3 separate regions of the Homo sapiens genome follow, and all the other regions are linked to region 1. Evidence: promoter capture Hi-C in human tissues and cell types (Jung and others, 2019). All regions are on one chromosome and are shown on one strand. The core of a region is centred on a gene start or on the middle of the fragment in contact, and the rest is flanking DNA. Distances in the headings are between cores, read along the strand shown. Region 1 holds the start of CPD (carboxypeptidase D). Region 2 overlaps NF1 (neurofibromin 1). Region 3 holds the start of CORO6 (coronin 6).

Region 1 (2,965 bases), core at 320-2,819:
GCCTCAAGTCTTAGGCCTCCCATTCAATTTTCCGTGTTACTGTCAGAGGAATTTTTCTAAACTAGCTTAAAACCCGTCTGTGGTTCTCCATGGCCTTCCAGATCAAATGTGCTCCCTGAAGACTGGCCTGTGAGCCCCTTCACACCAGTAATCCTGACCCTGCATGCAATTCCCAGAACACAAGGCATTTGTTCTCAAATCCTGCGGCTTTCTTTGCTTGCTTCTCCTCCTGCCTGGGATCCTTCCCATCCTCCATGGTTTCTCTCCTCCTTTCCTCCTCCTCAAGTTCAGATATTTCCCTCACCTGTACCCCCTCTGTTGTAGCATTTATCACAAACTACACTGAATCTCTTGACTGGGCAGAAGAATGAATTGTTTCCCAGCATCTAGCTTTGACATAAAAGTTGCTCAATAAATACTTGACGAATGAATGAACTCTATTAAAGTAGGGTTCAGTCATAGTTCAGGGAAGGGGCCCTGAAATAGCTGGCTCTGAAAGAAGGTAATGCCGGTTATTGCGATTATGTTGTTAGATGGGTAGAATTTCGCATTCGATTAAGGGATAGTTTTGGGTTTCTTCAAGCTAAAGAAACTAAAGCCTATAAAAGGTGATTTAAAAGACCTCTTCTCTAGACTTGATGAAACGCTGTAATTGCCATCTTTGGCTGACACTGAGGAGTTCAGGAATGCCAAGCAAGTGTTTCCAGAAATGTCAAACCTGCTGTTTTAAAATATGTCATTCCAGGGCACAGTTAAATATACAACTTGCTCCGATGAGGTGGGAGAAGTGGGCCGGTGAGCTGTGAAATGAAATCTGCCTAATGAGGGTCGAGGCCAGCACACACAGGGACCTATTTGCAGTAAAACAACGTGGGGTGACGCCTAAGAAATAGACAACATTAACACAAAGGGAGCCTACTACGTAGCACATTTCCGCTAGGCATAAAAGAGACACCTTTCCAGAAAGCAACTCTAAAAATGAATGCACCGCCTAGTGAGGTGCGAGCCTTCCTCCCCACGAGGCGTCCCGTGCAACCGCACGCGGACAGCGGGGCTCCAGCGGAGGCGGGGTGGATGCGGAGACAAGGCGCCTAGGAGACTGGGCTAAGGCTTTGAGTGTCCGAACGAAGATTCTTTCGAACCTATTGATTTTTTCTAGTCTTATGATTCTTTCGAACCTTTTGATTCTTTCCATTCTCGGTTCTAAGCATTAAAGCGCAGCTGAGAAAGGCAGCAACAAAGATGGGAAGAGAACTAGCAGGAGTTCTCAGAGAAAAATGGGTGATAATTTAGGGGAGAAGCCATAAAGAAGAGACTAAGCGAGAAGCGGAGCACACGCAGAAGACGAAACAAGGAGGAGGAGAAGAGAAGAAGAACCTTGGCGAAGGAAGAGAGTGACCAAACTCGTCCCGGACGGGAGGAGGGCAGGCCCGCCCAGAGGGAATCGGCTGCTTTAAGGGAAGCCCCGCCCCCTGGTGGTGACGCTCCACCAGGCCCGTCCGCGATTGGCTGCGGCCAGAGGGCGGGATGGGGTTGCTAGGCGAGGAGGGGATCCGGCGGGCCCCCGCCGCCCGGAGCGCTGAGCCGCGGGAGCGGAGCCGGGGTTAGCGGCGCTGCTGGAAGATGGCGAGCGGCCGGGACGAGCGGCCGCCTTGGCGGCTAGGGCGGCTCCTGTTGCTCATGTGCCTGCTGCTGCTGGGGAGCTCGGCCCGGGCGGCTCACATCAAGAAGGCGGAGGCGACTACCACAACTACGAGCGCGGGCGCCGAGGCGGCCGAGGGCCAGTTCGACCGCTACTACCACGAAGAGGAGTTGGAGTCGGCGCTGAGGGAGGCGGCGGCCGCGGGCCTCCCCGGCCTGGCCCGCCTCTTTAGCATCGGCCGCTCGGTGGAAGGCCGGCCGCTGTGGGTGCTTCGCCTCACCGCCGGCCTGGGGTCGCTAATCCCTGAGGGCGACGCGGGGCCTGACGCTGCCGGGCCCGACGCTGCGGGGCCGCTGCTGCCCGGCCGGCCCCAGGTGAAGCTGGTGGGCAACATGCATGGCGACGAGACCGTGTCGCGCCAGGTGTTGATCTACTTGGCCCGCGAGCTGGCGGCCGGCTACCGCCGCGGGGACCCGCGCCTGGTCCGCCTGCTCAACACCACCGACGTGTACCTGCTGCCCAGCCTCAACCCCGATGGCTTCGAGCGTGCCCGCGAGGGCGACTGTGGCTTCGGCGACGGCGGCCCGTCCGGGGCCAGCGGCCGCGACAATAGTCGCGGCCGCGACCTCAACCGAAGCTTTCCCGACCAGTTTAGCACCGGCGAACCCCCCGCCCTGGACGAGGTGCCCGAGGTGCGCGCCCTCATCGAGTGGATCCGCAGGAACAAGTGAGTGTTGCCTGCCCCCTCCCCGTCCGTGTGAGCCTCCAAGGGCCGAGGCTGGTTCCGGCACCCAGTAGGCGCTCAGACAATGCTGGCATAAGGGGTGGCGGTGGTGAAGGTGAAGGGAGACACCCTGTAACGGGGACAGGGCCCAGGCCGCGTAGCCTCCCGTCCTGCTAATCATCAAAGAATTGCCTCCTAGAGGCTGTCATTTGTTCAAGGGATGGCTGGAGGGGACACTCCTTTCTGACATTTCTGGTCCCTATTCTTACAGGGGCATAGAATATGAGCGAGAAGAGATCTTAAGGATAACCTAGGTCAGCTCACACATTTTATAGATAAGCTGTCAATGTTGTTATCTTATATCAAAAGTGCCTAATGTTATAGGCGCTGTGCTAATTTTTTCTGTGACTGCAGTATCTCACTTTATTTTGGCCACAACCTGATGTCATAGACACCATCAGTTTTGCATACGGGGAAATTGAGGGTCAGATTGGTTAACTGATTTACATAGGAGTGTGGCTGGGACTTAGAATTAGGCAATCTGATTCCCGATAGTCCTCTTAGCCACGGAGGGACACTGGAGCCCAAAAATGGCAGAT
Region 2 (2,965 bases), core at 198-2,697, 930 kb after region 1:
AGAGAAGGACAGGGCCCAAACAGGAACATAATTTTAAACCCAGGTTAGTTTGTAAGATCAATTTTGATAGGCTCCTATCCTCTACTGTCAGTAGTAAGCTGGTGGAACCCTCCATGTATGAGATTTTCACTTGTCAGTTAACGGTTATGGCAATATTAAAACCAAATTCCATTTTTTGCCTATCCTAACACTTTCTACCACTCTTCAGTTAGCTTTTTATCCTCCTAGGATCTGCCACATCAGAGTACTAGAAACTGTATTAGAATTCTATGATGGCAATTCAGTGTAGTCCAGAGAAGGAGAAGAAAGATTTAAAAGAGGAATAAATAGGGAATATGGTAGTGGAAAAAACTGACTTTTTTCCCAGCGGTAATGAGGCCAGCGTTACTACCAGTGTGGAAGGTTATTTAGCATACACATTTTAAAATATGTAAGTGGTGTGTACCTGAAGTACCAACATTGTTTCTGTAGGTAAAGAACAATATTGGGCAGGGGAATAAAAAGGAGATTTAGAATAATATAAAAGGCAATGCAAAGAAATACAAAATAACACAAAAGAGAAAAAACAAAAACTCTAGGAAGCAGCGAACAGAAAAGAGGAAGGTCAATTGACTAGAGAAGATACAGAAAAGAAGAAAAGTTAATAAACAGGTGAAAAAAAAAGCAGTGGTTATATAATTAGCAAGAAGGCAGTGTAGATGATTGAAGTAGGCAAAATGAAGTTGGGGGTGGGGGGAGATGATTGAAGTAGATGAAAGAAGCAACGGCAAAATGCTGCTCTGTTGTGGCTGGCCTGTGTTTGTGAGTGCAGGGAGACAGTAAAGAGGAGCTTGCTTTCTAAAATGGAGGACCAGAAGGAACCATCCTTTCAAATTCATTTACCTTTCATTTCAGGCTCTCCTGTCTGCTGTGAGTATCCTTACCATCCTCTCCCTTTTTTTTTCCCTGACACTATCCAGAAGCATACCTAGCAATTATTCCAAAGAACCCATGTACCCGTGTACGTTTTATATAGAGTTTTCCAGAAATCCCTTAGTCTGCTGCTCAAGCAAATTTGTCAGCCCTCATATGCCGGTTTTTACTCATTATTATAGGCTGGCACTTTGAGGTTTAAATCTGTGATTTTGGTTCTTTTTCTTTGCTGAATATTTAGAATATTTTAAAAAGAAAAACATAAATTTAAACATTTTAAAGACAGTTACAGTGAAGCAGGAGTCCCCGTGTATAAGACATGTTCTTTTTTTTTTTTTTTTTCCGTTTGGAGACAGGGTCTCACTCTGTCACCCGGGTTGCAGTGCAGTGGTGCAATCTCAGCTCACTGCAGCCTCTGCCTCCTGGGCTCAAGCGATCCTCCTCACACCTCAGCTTCCCTAAAGAAGTTAGAAACTGCAGGTGCACTACACCACGCCCAACTAATTTTTGTATTTTTTGTAGACATGGGGTTTCACCATGTCACCCAGACTTGCCTTGAACTCCTGGACTCAAGTGACCCACCCACCTTGGCCTCCCAAAGTGCTGGAATTATAGGCATGAGCCACCGAGCCCGGCCATAGACATGTTCTTATAAATATAATGCATAAGTACTTAAAGGGTCCAGCATTTAAAATTGATGCTGTTAAGTTGGATATGTTAGGAAGTATGCCATTATCTTTTAAAGAGAATCAAGATTTGGAGAGCATATCCTAGACAAAAGACAAGTATAGATAGCTGTATCAATTACTTTGATATAATAAAAGTTGTGATGCAAATATAATAGATTAAAATTTAGCAGTAGTATTATCTCTAACTAGTGAAGTTTTGAAACCGTAAAAGAAAAAACCAGCCATTCTGCATCTTGAGGAAAAGTGGAAAGAGAAATTGACCTTCAACTACAATAGGAAGTATTTGATGACCATCTTGTATCATGATAGTGACCATTTACTGAGCACCCACCAAAGGCTAAGCAGTATCCTATTTTAATTAGCTAGGTGGTGGTTTTTTCATCCTACAGATAAGGAAACTGAGACACCACGATGTTGGGTAACTTGGCAGTATCACAGCTCTAAGTAGTGGCACTAATACAAAAATCATGCTAATCTTGTGCCAGAACCGTTTCTTTCTATCACATTTCACTGTATGTGCTATACTGCCTTTCATAGAAAAGTTATGAAATAGAAATGCTTTATGAAGGAAGGAGATGTGAGTTGGTGGGAATTACACGTAAATAACACTTGTAGGTAGTCTTAGATAAAGGGTAGGAAAGAAATACCTGAAAACCCATTTTAGTCCTGATTCTACGAAAACTATTATAAGAATTTGGAATGGTTTCTATAAAGTGTCATATTTAGTAAGTTTACTGAAAATTTTGTGGTGATTTTTTTTTTAAAGCTTGGACATTGAAAGGCATCAGATTTATGTTTCTCAATTCAAACTTAATCAGAATTAAAGTTTCCTTCTAAGTAGAATTATGTGGGAATTAGCTGGAAAACACAGGCACTACTAGTAAACTTTAGATTTGGGACTAACCCTTTAAAAACATGTATGGGACCAGGCGCAGTGGTTCCTGCCTGTAATCCCAGCACTTTGGGAGGCCGAGGTGGGCCAATCACTTGAGGTCAGGAGTTGAAGACCAGCCTGACCAACATGGTGAAACCCCGTTTCTACTAAAAATACAAAAAATTAGCCAGGCGTGGTGGTGGGTGCCTGTAATCCCAGCTACTCAGGAGGCTGAGGCAGAAGAATCTCTTGACCCTGGGAGGCGGAGGTTGCAGTGAGCCTGTGAGCCAAGATGGTGCCGCTGCACACCAGCCTGGGTGACAGAGGGAGACTCCATCTCAAAAAAAAAAAAAAAAAGTATGGGATTCTATGACAAAAACACACCATAAGGATCGATGGGAAATTTTTTAATTTTATGAAATATGACAGTGAAAAAAATTTAATATAATTTTATGACTTTATGCATAATGAAATAAACTAAATATTAGAA
Region 3 (2,965 bases), core at 350-2,849, 760 kb before region 1:
TGTCCCATGTGACCTTGGACACACGGATGTCCTCGTAGGCCTGGTCGGCCTTTGCTGCCTGCCCAAACACATGGCGGAACTTGCTTTGCCGAACCACACGTCTGCTCATAGCTGCAGGCAGAGAGGTAGGATCTCAGTGCCCAGAAATGCCTTTGGTCCTTAGTCCTGTGAGCTGCGGGAGGGAGGAGGAGTGGAGGGGTGGCTGATGAGAAGGGTTATGTGGTCAGGAGTCAGGTATAAATCCATATAGTGTCTGGTCCTAGAAGCAGGGAGCTTTCTTCAAGGTGGTCAAAGTATGGGAAAGTTATTTTGCTGTGTAAAATGCTGTTTAATGTAAGTGGCTAGGATTTGGGGCCTGAATTCTCCACAGAGACCCAGGCTGAGGGGATTGTGGAGCCTAACAGACTGAAAGCTTTCTGGACGTTGGAATGTTTTTGGGAGGAGCCTCAATGCCACACTGCCTGCACCCCCCGCCCCCACCACCGCCAGCCTTGATGAGCATCTCTTCACGGACGTGGTTGTAGCTCCCAGAGGCACCCTGTCCAGAAGCAGAAGACTTGACCATTGGATCTTGGCTTAAAGCCAGGTATGGGGCCAAGACTGCAGCCACCACAGGATACCGAACTCGCATCTCTGGAATAGTTCAGGCAGATGGGGTTTTGCCTTTTCCTAAAATTTTGCCAAGGGGGAAGTTCCTCCTGTCCACCAATCTGAGTCCTTTCTGCTACTGTTTTCATCCCATGCCTTGTGGGGGGACGGGTGGCAGCACAGAGTGAGGTGGATCCCTCTTCTCCCACTCCTTTCTGCACTGGCTTCTCCAGGAAGCCCTGATCATGGTCTTCTGGCTTTTGCCTACCATAGGCTTGTCCGGTTTCTCCTCTGGGTCCTCTGCCCTGGTTGGGCCTTCTTCCTAGTGAACTCTTCTAGGGGTGGGGTCTTCAACCCCATCCTCCACCCCTGCCCCCGCCACGGCCAAGCCAGATTTGCAGGGGTGGGGAGGGTGAGGTGCCTTTTCTCCAGCTAGGGTCTCCCTAGAGGACACACTGAGCACTCCCAAAGCCCCAGCCAGTGGCTCCTGCCCCACCCCAGCCCCAGCATCCGTGTGCCCTTCAAGGCGCGTCTGCGGCCCCGAGCCTGAGGCCCGGCCTCCCTGCACCCTTCTTCAGCCTGCTGCCCTGACACTGCGTTCTTGCGAGACGAGGTGTCTGCGCCCTCCGGGAGCGCTGGCTGCTGTCCGGCCAAATATAGACACCACGTCCTCCCCGCCCGAAACCGAATTTGGCGGCGCGGGGGGAGGAGGCGCAGACCTCTGCCCCTCAGGGACCCCGCCCGCTCCGCTGGCTGCGGTGACGGCCGGGTGTGGGGGGCTGGGTACCTGGTCCTGAGCGGGCTGCGGGGCGCTCACGCTGCGAATCCTCTGCGGAAGGGGCCCGAGTGCGTAGGGGGCCGAGGAAGGCTTCAGGGCGAAGGAGCCACCTCTCCGGGTGTCTGTAGTATCTGGGACCCGGGTGTCCAGCTCCGCACTCTGGCCGATCCTGCGGCTCTCTAGAGCCCGGCGCCGCTGCAGCCCCAGCTGCCGCTGCCATCAACCTAAGAGGGCGGGGCTAGCATAGGGGCGGGGCCAGAGCCCAAGTTGCCCCGCCCCCTCCAGCGGCGGGAAAGTCGAGCGACCCCGACTCCCCTCCCAGCTTCCGCCGGCCTCGGAGAACCATCGAAAATAAATGTGCAGCTGTGTGCTAGGTGCGCACGCTGCTTCCCTCCCTCCATGACTCCCGGGTAGGCTGGGGAGGCTCGGGTTCGCAGACCTAGAGCAGGACGCTTGGAGAGGGAACGGGCGAGGGGGCGTGCGCCCCTAGAGCGGGCAGCCGAGGGAGACCAGGTGCCTCCACCCGCATTCCAGCCTCAATCGCGCTCCCAATTTAGCTGTCCCGATCGGCCGGGACTGCGGGACTGCACTTCCAGGCCTCCCTGGGGGAAAGAGGCCCTAGAGAATGAGGACCCAGGCTGATCCTGATGTAGGGCAAGTGAGAGGGCACCCGACACAGGGTTGTGAATGTTAGTTATTGTTATGAATGGCAATAGCGATCATTTGAGAAACCTAAAATGCTGGCTGTGTGCTAGGCATTTCACCCCATTAGATGAGATTCCATGGAGCAGGGCAGGAAGCAGCTGAAAGAACAAGGGGAGGACCGAGTGTAAAGTGAACCCACCTTGACACTCCCTCCCCTCCCAGATGCAGGGGGAAGAGGCTAGCACCGGTCTCTAGTCACATTTTAGGGGTCAGAGAAGCCAACTCAGAGGCCAGACTCCTAATGTTTTCTGGGCCTTGTTTGAATTGGCGCCCGACTGTGTTCCAGGTAAGCTTCCCCCGTCTCCCCCAATATTCACAGAACTGAATGTTGACCGAGGTCAAGGAGATTAAAGATAACCTGATCAAAATACAGCCAGTGAAGACCAGCCAGTCCCGTAGCTCCAGTCTACCCAGTGTCTGCACATTGCCTGGATTTCTTCCCTTGGATCATAAGGGCATCTGGGGCCAGTTATTACTTCCCACCCTCCAGGGCACACCTGGGAGTGAGTGAATGGAACACAGCCTTCTGAAGGGCAGGAACCAGCACTGGGGAGGAAAGGGAGGGAAGGTGGTAGAAACCATGAAGGGCCCACGAGGCTCCTTTGTTTCTCAGGAAGAGTCCAGGTGGCTTGTAGGGACAGAATCAAATCAAGAGTCAGTGGCTTGTAGGGGAACAGAATAAAAAACTGTTACGAGTGCTCCAGAAATAACTCCTGGCGTAGGGGTGCTGGGGCAGGGTATGAGGGTATGTGAGTCATCTCTCTTTTACCTAAAGATTCCAGGCACATGATTAGGAGGAAAATACCTGAGTGACTCAGTTGCTCCTTTACAACAATAACCCATGCTTATGTGCTAGGCACTGGCACTAAGGGCTTTATACGTATTAATTTCATA

What was found. Contacts are between HindIII fragments. The study calls those that stand out against the background at their distance.
Region 2: a contact is called between a fragment that was not itself captured here and the fragment with the promoter of CPD in region 1, in 1 of the 25 tissues and cell types used here (dorsolateral prefrontal cortex).
Region 3: the fragment with the promoter of CORO6 here is called in contact with the fragment with the promoter of CPD in region 1 in 1 of the 25 tissues and cell types used here (dorsolateral prefrontal cortex).

The regions. Positions count from the first base shown.
Region 1 is chr17:30,377,358-30,380,322 of GRCh38, forward strand. CPD (carboxypeptidase D) reads left to right here and starts at 1,570. Exons shown (of 21, transcript NM_001304.5): 1 at 1,570-2,369. The coding sequence starts at 1,624. RefSeq lists enhancers at 1,156-1,325, 1,471-2,398 and silencers at 1,376-1,615, 1,916-2,045. The HindIII fragment of the contact is 4,583 bases long and covers 1-2,965 here.
Region 2 is chr17:31,309,704-31,312,668 of GRCh38, forward strand. The region is part of intron 36 of NF1 (neurofibromin 1); the gene reads left to right. The region is part of intron 1 of EVI2B (ecotropic viral integration site 2B); the gene reads right to left. Among named protein-coding and RNA genes, the nearest start is that of EVI2B, 2.9 kb to the right of the region's middle. RefSeq lists an enhancer at 1,499-1,578. The HindIII fragment of the contact is 2,821 bases long and covers 38-2,858 here.
Region 3 is chr17:29,621,313-29,624,277 of GRCh38, forward strand. It overlaps CORO6 (coronin 6), which reads right to left and starts at 1,600. Exons shown (of 11, transcript NM_032854.4): 1 at 1,376-1,600; 2 at 1-172. The coding sequence starts at 109. RefSeq lists a silencer at 1,264-1,413 and an enhancer at 2,201-2,965. The HindIII fragment of the contact is 11,130 bases long and covers 1-2,965 here.